Regions from separate parts of the Homo sapiens genome. Here region 1 is linked to region 2. The links are contacts of gene promoters, found by promoter capture Hi-C in blood cells and fetal thymus (Javierre and others, 2016). All regions are on one chromosome and are shown on one strand. Each heading gives the region's core, a stretch centred on a gene start or on the middle of the fragment in contact. The rest is flanking DNA. Distances are from core to core; before and after follow the strand shown. Region 1 has its middle 21 kb from the start of PRF1. Region 2 holds the start of SGPL1 (sphingosine-1-phosphate lyase 1).

Evidence for each region. Contacts are between HindIII fragments. The CHiCAGO score rates a contact against its expected background, and 5 or more counts as called.
Region 1: a contact is called between a fragment that was not itself captured here and the fragment with the promoter of SGPL1 in region 2, in 1 of 17 cell types (M2 macrophages). The highest score is 5.6, in M2 macrophages.

The regions. Positions count from the first base shown.
Region 1 is chr10:70,620,509-70,627,676 of GRCh38, forward strand. No RefSeq gene overlaps it. Among named protein-coding and RNA genes, the nearest start is that of PRF1, 21 kb to the left of the region's middle. RefSeq lists an enhancer at 4,779-5,368. The HindIII fragment of the contact is 5,679 bases long and covers 73-5,751 here.
Region 2 is chr10:70,812,690-70,819,977 of GRCh38, forward strand. It overlaps SGPL1 (sphingosine-1-phosphate lyase 1), which reads left to right and starts at 3,259. Exons shown (of 15, transcript NM_003901.4): 1 at 3,259-3,437; 2 at 4,122-4,191. The coding sequence starts at 4,165. RefSeq lists silencers at 3,055-3,374, 3,395-3,484, 3,565-3,674. The HindIII fragment of the contact is 12,143 bases long and covers 1-7,288 here.

The DNA.
Region 1 (7,168 bases), core at 1,662-4,161, 190 kb before region 2:
GGGAGGGGACTGCTTCCAGGTCATATAGGTAGATTCAAAGATTTTCTGATTGGCAATTGGTTGAAAGAGTTAAGCTTTGTCTAAAGGCTTAAGAAGTCAGTAGAAAGGAATCCTTGAGCTAAGACAAGGGGGTTGTGGAAGCCAAGGCCCTTGTTACGTAGATGAAGTCTCATAGGTGGCAGCCCGCAGACAGCATGTGATGCCATACCAGAGTTAGGTTGGAATTTTGTGTTTTATTACTACAAAGAGTCTGTTTTGTCGGTCTTATGATCTCTCTTTTAATATTAATGCTGGCCAGTTGTGCCTAAACTCCAAAAGGGAGGGGGCATAATGAGGCCTCTCCAACTTCCCTTCCCATCATGATTTGGAATTCATTTTTTCAGGTTTTCCTTGGCCCAGAGGGAGTCCATTCAATCAGTTGGGTAGCTTAGGATTTTGTTTTTGGTTTACAAAAGAAATATGTCTTTTTTTCAAGTGCGTACTGAACATTTACCTAAATTGGCAATTTACTGGGCCATAAAATATCTCAAAACATTTCAATGGATTAAAAATTTACAGAGAATGTTACTCAGTGGATTAAGCAAGAAATCAATAACAAGAACAAAAAAACAAACAAACAAAAAATCAAAATGTTTGAAAATATACAAGGGTTAAATTACATTTAGCCTAAAGCTGCCTCCTTACATAGTTCAAGTTTGGCCTAAAGGTTTCTCAGTAAGTAATGAACTGTAACCTAACTGGATGTGTAAACAGACTATAACCTACTCTTTTATTTTATTTTATTTTTTTGACAGAGAGTCTCACTGTGTCACCTAGGCTGGAGTGCAATGGCACAATCTTGGCTCACTGCAACCTCCACCTCCCAGGTTCAAGTGATTCTTGTGCCTCGGCCTCGCAAGTAGCTGGGATTAGGTGCGCACCACCATGCCCAGCTAATTTTTGTATTTTTAGTAGACATGGGGTTTCACCATGTTGTCCAGGCTGGTCTTGAACTCCTGACCTCAGGTGATCCACCCGCCTTGGCCTCCCAAAGTGCTAGGATTATAGGTGTGGGCGACCATGCCAGGCCTTGTAACCTACTCTTGTAACAAGTAGGTCTTAGCCAATCACAGCAGTCATATTTCAACCACTTACAGGCAGCCAATGGTTCAAACCATGCTCAGATAAGGCAAACGCTTAGTTGCCTTTTGGATTGGCTGCCAAGCAACTAATCTGGCTGTTCCTGCGTCTCACTTCTGTTTTCTGTATTTCACTTTCCCTTTTCTGTCCATAAATCCTTTCCAACCACCAGAGTCACTTTGAACCTCTTCTGGTTCTAGGGACTGCCCAATTTGTGAAATGTTCTTTGCTCAATTAAACTCTGTTAAATTTAATTTGTCTAAAACTTTTCTTCTAACACCAATATCCTTCAAAATAAGTTCCAAATCAAAGAATAAGTCAGAAAATACTTTTAACTGAATGATAAAAATATGATACACTAAAATACATGGGATGCAACTAATATTATGTTTAGAGGGAAGTTTATGGTCATAAATGCACATTTCAGAAAAGGAGAAAGATTTAATATTGTAAAAAAACAAAATATGTTACTCTAAAATATGGTTTTAGCAGATCAGAATATGCCACTCCAAAATATGCCTCTGGCATAAGAATGATTTTGAGCTGATTATTATTATTTATTTATTTTTGAGACAGAGTCTCACTCTGTTGCCCATGCTGGAGTGCAGTGGTGCGATCTCCGCTCACTGCAAGCTCCGCCTCCCAGGTTCACATCATTCTCCTGCCTCAGCCTCCTGAGTAGCTGGGACTACAGGCACCTGCCACCATGGCTGGCTAATTTTTTTTTTTTTTTTGTATTTTTAGTAGAGACGGGGTTTCACCATATTAGCCAGGATGGCCTCGATCTCCTGACCTCGTGATCTGCTTGTCTCAGCCTCCCAAAGTGCTGGGATTACAAATGTGAATCACTACGCCTGGCCGAGCTGAGTATTTTTGATGGCAGTGGCTGCTGCCATCATGCTGGCTGCAGCAGGGAGGCACGGCTTTGGCTGCACACTCCATAAAGCTGGTGGGAGTTGGGAGGAGAGCTCTCTGGGTGCTGCTGCAACTGCCCAACCAGCAGCTTCAGACCCAGGCCTCCTGCTCTACAGAGCACACAGGAGACTCACCCTCCTGGGTGGGGCTACAGCCGTCCAAATTGCAGCTGTGCTCTTTGAGGAGGTCTGGGAGCAGGCAGGATCTGCCCTCCTGGGTGTGGCTGTGACCGCCCTCCCAGGTGCAGGAGCTGGTGTCTCTGCAGCCTGCACCCTCAGTGGCCTTAGGAAGGACACTCCTCCATCCCTCCAAGCTCAGAGGTGTCTTTTCCCACTGCCTGGCTTCTCTTCACTCATGGTGCCTCCTCTGATCTTGGAGGGGGTGTTGGGGCCAAGCCCAGGGGCCATGAATGGCAGTGGGAGGCAAATTGATTTTTGGGTGGAAGGAGGCAGGTCCCCAGTAAGGCCACACCTTCAGGCCAGGGAAGGTCTGAAGGCTGGGGACCGGGCTGCCAGTCCTGCAGATTGGCAGACTGGTGGGGGGACTTGTGGTGCCTCTTCTGGGCCTCCCATGGCCACCCAGGGACCAACTGGCATGTACTTCCTTCCCTCCAAGGCCCATAAAAGCCCAGGGCTCAGCCAGAGTGGGGCACAGGACGAAGAGGGCGGAGATGATGGGAGGACCACCTGCAAAGAGGAGTACTTTCTCTGCTGATAGCTGCAGAGACCTGCAGAAATGTCCAAATGACCTGCCTGCAGAGAGGAGTTATCCTCTCCAGGGCCTCCTTTTTGTGGAGAGCTGAACACTGGATGGGATGACCTGCCTACAGAGAGGAGCTACCCATTCCTCTAAGCTGTTCTAACACTAAATAAAACTCTTCTTCACCCTTCACTTGTCTGCATACCTCATTCTTTTGGATACAGGACAAGAACTTGGGCAATAGTGCTGTGGCCACAGAGGTTTCTGGCCAGAAAAGTCAACACCCTAGAGATCCCTTAAAATTTTGAGAAACTGCAGACATAGGAGAAGCTCTGAAAACACAGTAAAAATTACCCTTTTATAAGGGAAATTAAAAGCCATAAAGGAAATCTCCATTTGTAAAGATGTTTCCTGCTCAGTACCAGAAAGAGAAGAATGATGTTAAATCACTGGAAACTCTTATCAGTGGAGAAGGTATCAACTTAAATCTGCCTAACAAACCTTATCCTATTTTCTTTTCTTTTCTTTTTTTTTTTTTTTTTTTTTTGAGATAGGGTCTCACTTTGTTTACCTAAGCTGGAGTGCAGTGGCATGATCTAGGCTCACTGCAACTTCCACCCACTGGGTTCAAGCAAGTCTCCTGCCTCAGCTGGGATTACAGGCATGTACCACCATGCCCAGCTAATTTTTGTAATTTTAGTAGAGATGGGGTTTCACCATGTTGCCCAGGCTGGTCTCAAACTCCTGGCCTCAAGTGATCCGCCTGCCTTGGCCTCCCAAATTGCTGGGATTACAGGCATGAGCCACTGCACCCGGCTTGAGATTTTCTTGGGCATCTCCCCACAGCTGGCCTTCTTCACACCCTTGTATTTTTGTTTTAGCTGAAGATTATATCTAAGCCTGAACTCAGAGCCATCTCTTTGAGATTTACTCATTTACTCTAGGTATCTTATGTATGTTTGACCATAAACAAGTCTGTTGCAGTATACATGGTAAGTCAATACATCAACACTGAGAGTTGCATCAGAGAAAAAGTTTTAATCATAGGGCTGCCCAGCAAGGAGGCAAGAGGAAACTTCAAATCTGCCTCCCAGAGGAGTTGGGGGTTAGAGATTTTAAGGAGTTTGGAGTGGCCAAGGTGTGGAGATTGTTGATTGGTCAAAGAGTGCAGCGTGAAATCCTGGGATGGGGAGATGAAGAAACTGCATTCTCATGTTGATTCAGCTCCTCTGTGGGAGTCTTCAAGCTGATGGGCATCAGCTGTTCAGCTGGAATTCAGGATCTGAAAACATCTTAAGTAATTCTTTTTTTTTTTTTTTTTTTTTTTTGAGACGGAGTCTCACTTTGTCACCCAGGCTGGAGCGCAGTGATGTGATCTCGGCTCACTGCAAGCTCCGCCTCCCGGGTTCACGCCATTCTCCTGCCTCAGCCTCCCGAGTAGCTGGGAACTACAGGTGCCTGCCAACACGCCCGGCTAATTTTTTGTATTTTTAGTAGAGACGGGGTTTCACTGTGTTCACCAGGCTGGTCTCCATCTCCTGACCTCGTGATCTGCCCGCCTCGGCCTCCCAAAGTGCTGGGATTACAGGCATGAGCCACCGCGCCCGGCCATCTTAAGTAATTCTTAAACAAAAGCCTTAGGTGTCAGAGATCCTATCTGTAGGAACAGTGGGAATGCAGATGGTGGGGATCTAGTGCTACGTGACTTTAAATTAAAAGAAGTGCCGGGCTCAGTGGCTCGTGTAATCCCAGCACTTTGGGAGGCCGAGGCGGGCGGATCACATAAGGTCGGGAGTTCGAGACCAGCCTGACCAACATGGAGAAACCCCGTCTCTACTAAAAATACAAAATTAGCTGGGCGTGGTGGCACATGCCTGTAATCCCAGCTACTGGGGAGGCTGAGGCAGGAGAATCGCTTGAACCTGGGAGGCGGAGGTTGCAGTGAGCCGAGATCGCGCCATTGCACTCCAGCCTGGGCAACAGGAGTGAAACTCTGTCTCAAAAAAAAAAAAAAATAGATAAAAATAAAAAAAAAGATAAATTACAAAGAAGTGGGCCAAAGTGCAGCCTGCTTAGTGCTCCTAATGCTTAATAATGAGTATATTTCTGCCCAGAACACTGCATGTATTTCTTGTTAACCCTGAAAGGATGGTTTTATATGCATAAAGTATATGTGTTATTAAACTTCTGTTTGTTATTCTCTTGTCACTCTTTTGTTCCAGGGATCTGTCCTAACTAAGAACTATGAAGGTGTAAACCAAAATAAAATCCTAAAAGCTGGGCATGGTGGCTTATGCCTGTAATCCTAGCCTTTTGGAAGGCCAAGATGGGTGGATCACCTGAGCTCAGGAGTTTAAGACCAGCCTGGGCAACATGAAACCCTGTCTCTACCAAAAACAAAAACAAAAACAAAAACAAAAAACAACTGGGCATGATGGCATGTGTCTGTAGTCCCAGCTACTTGTGGGGCTGAGGTGGGAGGATCGCTTGAGCGCAGGAGGTGGAGGCTGCAGTAAGCCGAGATCGCACCATTACACTCCAGCCTGGGTGACAGAGTGAGACTCTGTCTCAAAGAAAAAAAATCCTAAGTCCCCCAGTAGACTGAATGAACCCTTTTGGCCAAGGGGATCCTAGGGAAACCTGAAAAACTCAACTCTAGGCCATGACAGTAAGGGAGGTCAGACACACCTTTTTATACCTCCTCCCTTTTAAGAGTTTAGGAACAACTGACCAGCATTAACATAAAATAGAGATCATAAAGCTGACAAAACAGATTATTTGTAGCAAATTCCAGCCTGACTCTGGGATAACATCACATGACAGATAGCAGACCCTGAAGGAAATAAAAATATTTTAGTCTAAAATATAATTATTTGACATATTTTAAAAGAGTCCTTCAAAGCCATCTTTTCAGGAAGCCTGCTACCTGGAGGCTTCATCTGCATAACAAGAACCTTGGCTTCCACAATCCCCCTTAACTCAAGCATTTCTTTCTACTGACTTCAGATTTTTAGACAAAGCTTAAGTCTTTCAACTAATTGCTAATCAGAAAATCTTTGAATCCACCTATACCTGTAAGTCCCTCCTTTAAAATGTCCTGCCTTTCTGGGCTGAACCAATGTACATCTTCTATGTATTGATTTATGTCTTTGCTTGTAACTTCTGTCCCCCACAAAATGTATAAAACAAAACTGTCAGGCCTCTGAGCCCAAGCCTGCACATATACATCCAGATGGCCTGAAGCAAGTGAAGAATCACAGAAGAAATGAAAATGGCCGGTTCCTGCCTTAACTGATGACACTACCTTGTGAAATTCCTTTTCCTGGCTCAGAAGCTCCTCCACTGGGCACCTTATGTCCCCTGCCCCTGCCCACCAAAGAACAACCCCCTTTGACTGTAATTTTCCACTACCTACCCAAATTCTATAAAACGGCCCCACCCGTATCTCCCTTCACTGACTCTCTTTTTGGACTCAGCTCGTCTACACCCAGATGATTAAAAACCTTTATTGCTCACACAAAGCCTGTTTGGTGATCTCTTCACACGGATGCGTGTGAGAAAAACTATTACTTGACTACTTTGGGCACACCTTCTCAGAACCTCTTGAGACTTTTCCGGGCCATGTTCACTCATAATGACTTAGAATAAACCTTTTAAAATATTTACAGAGTTTGGCTTTTTTTCCTCAATAAACAATAGAGAGAAAATTATTTTTCCTCCCTTACAATATCAATAATCAAAGTATACATCTAAAGATGTTTAAAAGAGGACAACAGATTAAATCCAAACAGTGGAGGAAGGAAATACTAAAGAGAAGAGCAAAAGTTAATGAAACAACCAGCTGTCATGGCTCACACCTGTAATCCCAGCATTTTGGGAGGCTGAGGCGGGTGGATCACTTGAGGTCAGGAGTTCAAGACCAGCCTGGTCAACATGGTGAAACCTTGTCTCTACTAAAAATACAAAAATTAGCCAGGTGTGGTGGCACACACCTGTAGTTCCAGCTACTCAGGAATCTGAGGCAGCAGAATCACTTGAACCCGGGAGGCAGAGGTTGCAGTGAGCTGAGATCATGTCACTGCACTCCAGGCTGGGAGACAGAGCAAGAATCTGTCTTGAAAAAAAAAAAGAGAGAGAGAGAGAAGGTACAAATTAGCAATATCAGAAATGAAAAAGGAGACATTACTACAGCACCTGCAAACATTAAAAAGGTCATAAGGAGATATTATGAACAATTTTATGCCAATAAATTTGACAATTTAGATAAAACAGTACATTTCCTTAAAACAATAGCTTACCAAAGCTAACACAGAAATACATTAAAAATCTGGGTAACCTATAGCCAGAAAATAAATGTTTTCTTTTTAAAAAATTGAGACTTGTGTACCATAAGACTTACCCTTTTAAGGTGTAAGATTCAGTAGCATTAAGAACA
Region 2 (7,288 bases), core at 2,009-4,508:
GTCTGTCTGGCCCTTGGCCTCTCCTCCCCTGGTGGCCAGCTCTGCTGTGATCAGCTGAGCCTGCTGCTGGAGCTATGTGCTGGTTTCCTGCCTCTTCTTGGGCATTCTGGGCTCTAGGAACTGTTTGTTGGTTTCCTGTGGGCCATTCCTTTCCAGGATGGGCCTAGAGGCTGCAACCCTCCTAAGATCTGCCCACACCCCTGTCCTGAGGTGAGCTTCTCAAGAAGGTCCCCGGCTGAGCAAGGGGTGTCAGGAGCAAGAATGGAGGCAGGAGAGTGTGTGCGCCTGCTTTTTAGAGTGGGAGTGTGCACTCATGCATGAGTGGGAGGCTGTCATTAACTTGGCCATGGATGGCTGCCATTTTAAGCAGAACCAGATTTGCTGGCATGAATTGTTTAAATGATGGCAGGCACAAGCACTGCAGGGAGATCCTCCTAGCCTAAATTAAAGAAGCCACAGAGGGAAAAAATCCCAGACCATCTTGCTCCACACCTCCCTCCCCCGTCCCAAGCCTTCCGTCATCTGCGGGAATTTCAGTGCCTCACTGACACCTGAATGACAATCTTTTGTCATCCTGGAAGGCACCATGATGGTACCAAAGGACAACTGGGGAGCATTGGTTCCCTCCCCAGCCCCAAACAAACACGTTCTTCATCAGCCTCCTTAAGCCATCCCAAACAACCCACACGCTTAATACAACTATCGTGCCTTCTATCCGGGCAAAGTGCCATGTGTCTGTAGACACAGCTACTCAGGAGGCTGAGACAGGAGGATCGCTCGAGCCCAGGAGTTTGAGGCTGTAGTGAGCTATGATAATGGCTGTAAATAGCCACTACACTCCAGCCTGGGCAACATTATTGAGACCATGTTTCTAAATAAGCAAACAAAAATTGTGCTTTCTCTGCAAACAGAGTGTCTAGGGAAGTGCTTTTTACTTTCTTGTGCATTAAGATCATCTGGGGACCTTGTTAAGCTGTAGATTCTGATTCAGGAGGTCTGGAGTGGGGCCCCAAGAACCTGTATTTATAACAAGCTCTCAGGTAAAGCCAATGCTGCTCTCAGGGAAACCACACTTTCAGAATGGAAGTTCCAGATAGCCCTCCTCTGCCTCTGACCAGCCAGCTATGTGCCTGCTAACGTCATTCTGCTGTCAGAGGGAGTGTGGGGTAGGAGAGCAGGGTGGTCTGAAGTCTTTCTCTCTCTCTTTCTCTCTCTCTCTCTCTCTCACACACACACACACACACACACACACACACACACACACACACACAGGGCTTCATCGGCTCAGAGAGTTGCAAACCCAGACCCATGTTCTAGGCTGGGCTCTGCCAGGAACTGCTAGGAGTCGCATCTCTCTCTGGACCTCAGTTTCTTCACGTGTATTTGTGTATTCTCTGGGGTGGAGCTGGCGAATAGCTGGAGACCCCTCTAGCCCTACCATTTTTTGATTCTAATTAACCAAAAAGGATATTCGAGGTCCCCGCTACAAATTCTGAACCCTTGGCTTCCCCTCCAAACTCCCACACAAACTCCACCCCATCCTGCCTGTGTGTCTTTGGGAGGATCATTTCCTTCTTTGGTCTTGGTGTCCTTGTTTACAGGTTGAGGGATGATAAGAGTCACCTGATCTGGGCAAGTCAGGCCATAAATAAGGCTTGTATGTAAAGGTGCCTAGCATAGTTCTTGGCAAAGCAAGGATCAGTCGATATGATTGCATTGGTTTGAGCATCTGGGAAGAATGAGCAGACTGCATACTGTGTGTTAGGGTGTAGGGAGGAATCAGACGTGACCCTGCCCTCTAGTCATCTGGGTGCACAGATTCTAGATTAAAGGATGTGGGGGTGGTAACTAACAAGGAGATGGAGAGGAGGTGTGCAGTTCCTGGGGGATCTGATGAAGAATTAAAGCAGAAGGGTAGGAGATGGAGAATGGGAAGGCATACCTGAAACCCTAAAGCAACTCTTGATGAGTAGGCATTGGCAGGAGGCCCCAGAACATTTTCTGACCCTCAAACACTGAGAATGCATGTCTGCTGGGGAATAGTAGTGAGGGGGCTAAGGGTATGGGGGTGTTCATGCCTGAGTCAGGGGCTCTGGATGGTAGAAATGTCTGGGAGTTCTGACGGAATGGGGGTGAGGAGGCCTAAAGATAACCTGTTCATAGTCTTTCAGGGCCTTAACCATTATGGCTGGGGAAGTGGGAAGTGCCGATGGGGTATGCAGAGGAGGGCAGCTGTGATAGTACATTTCATCCTGAAAGCACTACATGTGGATAATGACGGTAGTGATGATGCCCTAATTTTAGTGTCATGGCAACATTTTCCAAGGGGATGGAATTGGGTACCCTCATTAGTGTCATTTTTGTTTGAGAGATTTCAAGAGTCTATCTAGGTGTCATTTTAAAATCTATTGAAAAAAAATCTTGAATGCAGGTCACTGACCAGTTGGTTCCATGTAACTGCACTGCCTTCTGCTACCACTAAAGCAATGTTATGACAACCTGGACAAGTCATGGGAAACCTATGTGAGACTTAGTTTTTTCTTTTTCTTTTTGGAGTTGGGGGTCTCACTATGTTGCTCAGGCTGATCTAGAGCTCCTGGGCTCAGACAACCCTCCCGCCTCAGCATCCCCAAGTGCCGGGATTACCGATGTAAGCCACTACACCCAGCTGAGACTTAGTTTTTTCATCTGGAAATGAAGGCGACCTTTGTGATCCCAGTGGGCCCTTGCACTTGTGTATAAGGTGATTCCCAGCACTGCTCATGAAAGTAGTGATGGCAGAGTAGCCTCTGCTCTCCATTTTATTTTTGGGGTGGGGGGGGGCAGTGGTGGAGGGGAGGATGAGGATGATATTTCCATTAAATAAGTTTCCTTGTTGCTTTTCTTCAGGCACCACTGACCTCGATGGAAAAATGAAGTCCCTGGCCCAGGAAAGAGACCCAACTCTGTGGCTGTTTTGGATTAGTTTGTACAATGCCCTGCAGACCTACTCTCTCAGGAGGCTCCAAGTGACCAAATGTGACAAGAAAGTTTTTTGTCCAAGGCAGTTTGGAAGAGAAGTTGGTGACCGTCGGGATACCACAGCCGCCCCAGGACGGCCTGGTTGAGACATTCACTGGAGGGTCTGGGTGCAGCCCGCTGCCTGGCCGGTAGGCGGCGCGCACAGGCCGTGGGGCCCGGGTCTGGGCGTGCGCGCGGCTGGTAGCAGCGGGGCCGCGCACGCCAGGGTCCGGGAGCCGGGCCGGTGCCCCCGGAGCCATTTCCGGGAGGGGCGAGGCCGGCGGCTGCCGGGCCTCCAATCTCGGCGGCGGCGGCGGCAACAGGGGAGCCTGGGTCTCGCGGCCTGCGAGTCCGTCGCGTGCTGAGGGAGACGCAGGAGGTGGAGCCGGCCGGGTGCTCGAGGGAAGGAGACTGGAAGCTGGTTCCGGCGTGAGGAGGTGGAGGGGCCGCCGCGGGCTCCGGGGGGCGGTGAGGGTCGGGACGGAGGCGCCGCGGGGTGAGGAGAGGACAGGGGCCGGGTGGGCCGAGGGCGGGCAGAGGCGGCGGGGCGGCTGCGGCCGGGGCGGGGGCGGGGGCGGGCTGAAGGCGTGGGCACCAGCCGCTGAGGTCCAAGCAAGTGGACGGCGGGCGGGCGCGGGGCCGCGGTGGGGCGGGTCTGGAGCCCACGCCTGCCGCGGGGTAGGCATGGGCGGCCAGGATTTGCTGGTCCTCCGACGGGAGGGGTGACAACGAGAGCGAGGCCGTGCTGATTCTGAAGGGAGTGCGGAGGAGGCAGGACCCTGGTAGCCTCGGCACCTTCAGCCCGGGTTAGGTGGCCTGGGCTGGGCTCCCCACCCCGATCGCGCGCAGACGGGGCGTTTCCCCTAGTTTCCACCTGGGTGGAATGCTTTGTGGGAGTCTGGGTCTGGATTAGTTTCATCAGCTGTGGGAGGGAAACCTAGTTGCAGCAGGATTTTGATTCGCTGGTCTGGGGTGCTAGGGGTGGACTGTGATATCTGGGAATGAAATCTGAGCCTTCAAAGGAGGGAGAGAACCATAACTTGGCTGCTCTGGCGAATCTAGGCGGGCTGGCGAGACAGTTTAAAGCTCTAGAAGTAAACAAACCTGGTTCCCTTTTACAGAGTCTGAAAAAGGGGAGCGCGGAGAGGAGGCTGGAAGAGGAAGATGCCTAGCACAGACCTTCTGATGTTGGTGAGCCTTTTGCAGACATCCTCCTGGTTCCAAGGCATTTGTCTCCGTTTTTTTAGTCCAAAGGATCCCAGTGTGTAGATTTCACCTCTGATGCTTGCTTTTGGTAGCTGAGCGTTTTGCCACCTTTTATTTTGTTTTGTTTTGTTTTGTTTTTTTGGAGACGGAGTCTCACTCTGTTGCCCAGACTGGGGTGCAGTGGCATGATCTCGGCTCACCGCCACCTCTGCCTCCTGGGTTCAAGCGATTCTCCTGCCTCAGCCTCCTGAGTAGCTGGGATTACAGGCGCACGCCACCACGCCCGGCTAATTTTTGTATTTTTAGTAGAGACGGGGTTCTCCATGTTGGCCAGGCTGGCCTTGAACTCCTGACCTGTGGTGATCCACCCGCCTTGGCCTCCCGAAGTGCTGGGATTCCAGGCGTGAGCCACCGCGCCTGGCCAACCACCTTTTATTTTGGATGAATGATCAGGATGAATAAATAGCTGAATTAAATACATCAATACAGTATATGTAGAACTTAAATTATTGAAGAATCTTTTTCAAAATTATTATTATTTTTTTTAAATGAGACAAGGTCTTGCTATGTTCCTCAGACCGGAGTGCAGTGGCTATTTACAGGCATAATCATAGCTCACTGTAGCCTGGAACTCCCACTTCAAGTGATCCTCTTGCTTCAGCCTCTGGAGTAGCTAGGACTAGGAGCACAGGTCACCTCTCCTGGCTTTCTTTTTCATAATTCTTGCAGTTTTAATCCCTCCCTTCCCGTACTACCAGAGCAGTTTTGAAACCTCTATTATTACGTTTTATCAGGGTCTGCCATATACTAGTTTATCTGAGTGTTTGTCTTCCAGATTAGAGTTATGGTTCCTCGACAGGCAGATAATCATGTCTTCTTTGTTTAGAGATGAATAAACACCTAGCATGGTGCTCTGAATATAGTATGTGCTTAACAAATGCTTGTTGGATTGAACCAGTATGAATTTAAGTTCTTTTGTTGGACAGAGAGGTATGCCTGCTTTAGAGCTGTTTCCTCTCCTCCTGAGATCTTTCTGTGCTGTTTTACTGAGCAGGGAAGAATAGCGTTGCTAAATGCATGTTTACCAAAATGACATTTTATTTTTGGGACTTTTATGATTCCTTATGGACTTCTTAGTGTGAGAATTATGGAGAGTTTATAGCTTTGAAATGGTGGTATAGAAAAAGTGTCCGGGTTTAGTTTTTTTTGTTTCGTTTTGTTTTGTTTTGTTTGTTTGTTTTTGAGATGGAGTTTAGCTCTTGTCTCCCAGGCTGGAGTGCAATGGCACAATCTCAGCTCATTGCAACCTTTGCCTCCCGGGTTCAAGCGATTCTCCTGCCTCAGCCTCCCGGGTAGCTGGGATTATAGGTGCACACCACCATGCCTGGGTAATTTTTGTTTTTTAATAGAGATGGGGTTTCGCCGTGTTAGCCAGGCTGGTCTCAAACTCCTAACCTCAGGTGATCCACCTGCCTTGGTCTCCCAAAGTGCTGGGATTACTTACAGGCGTGAGCCGCCGTGTCCAGCCAAGTTTGTTTGTTTGTTTGTTTTTGTCACTTCTCTGAGTGCAAAATCAGTGCTTTAAAAACAATTCATTTCTCTCTCTTTATCTCACTATCCCAGAGGGTGGGTTGGCGTCACTGGGAAACTGGCAAAAACTGGTAGTGAGATTTCCTTATACTGGGTGCTGACATCGTAGTGGCATAACCTGTAAGGTCTGCAGGGGGGCTAAAGAAGAGAGAAACTAAGTTTTGATCCATTGTGATTTGAGGCAGGGATCTAGGATAATTTTAGGTTGTATGTGAGAGACATAGATGAATACTTAGGTTATCCGCAGATCCCAATGAAAAGTTCATCTAAAATAGTATCTTGCCCCAAATTTCATGGATTTTTCAGTTTTAATTAATACCCTTATATAACTTAAAATTCTTATTCAAAGACCATTATGTTAGAAATACTGGAAACTATAAGTAAGCAAAAGGAAAGGGGATTTGTTAATCTCCCCTATCTCCTACATCCCCTTCATTCGCCTCTACCCCGTGCAGTAATTTATCACCCAGAAATAACCGCTGTGAGCATCTTGGATGGTTAATGCAGAGTGACTTGTAGCAATTGACAGTTTCTGTTTATCCTCTTACAGAAGGATATGTTTATGTAAATTATAGGTTCTTATATGTAAGATATTTCCCCATGCACAGAGATATGGTTATTACTTATAGGGCCTATGCATTTACTTTAACAGAACAATGACTGCTTTTACTCGGAATATTAACTTTGGAATCAGTTTTCTTTTGAGGTATTTCTCTAGCTGTTGCCACCACCTTTCACCTCCTCACCTGTTAATTTAGAATGTTTAGGAGTGTTGCTTTGCTTGTTGCTGTAAGGAATTAATCCACATAGATGCGAGTGGCCCTAGGCAGTCATCACTTTCTGAAGACAACATACATGTTGCATGAAGTGCTTTCACTGGAAAAGTTGTCATTCATTCCTTGACTGTAATGTATAATGCTATTTGGAACTAACTGGTAAAGAACCAATAACCATGGCTGGGTTTTCAGTGGCACACTAACCCATCATTCTATGAGGTGTTTCTCAAGCTACTTTATATGATATGTAAAACATGTTCTTGGCCCTCCACCTGGGAAGAAAGGACCTAAGTGAATAAAAAAATAACCTCAGTGCAGTGCAGCATCTCAGAATTAGAAATAGTCTTAGAAGTCATGGGATGCAGCTTTTTTTTTTTTTTTTTTTTTGAGACAAGGTCTCACTCTGATGCCCAGGCTGGAGTGCAGTGGCATGATCTCAGCTTACTGCATCCTCAATCTCTGAGGCTCAGATGATCCTTCCACCTCAGCCTCCTGAGTAGCTGGGACGACAGGCACATGCCACCATGCCCGGCTGATTTTTGTATTTATTTTTTGTAGAGATGGTAGTTTGCCATGTTACCCAGGCTGGTATCTAACTCCTGGGCTCAAGGGATCCAACCGCCTGCCTTGGCCTCCCAAAGTGCTGGATTACAGGCATGAGCCACTGTACCTGGCCTGTGATGCAGCTTATATTATACATGAATCTGTTGAAGAGT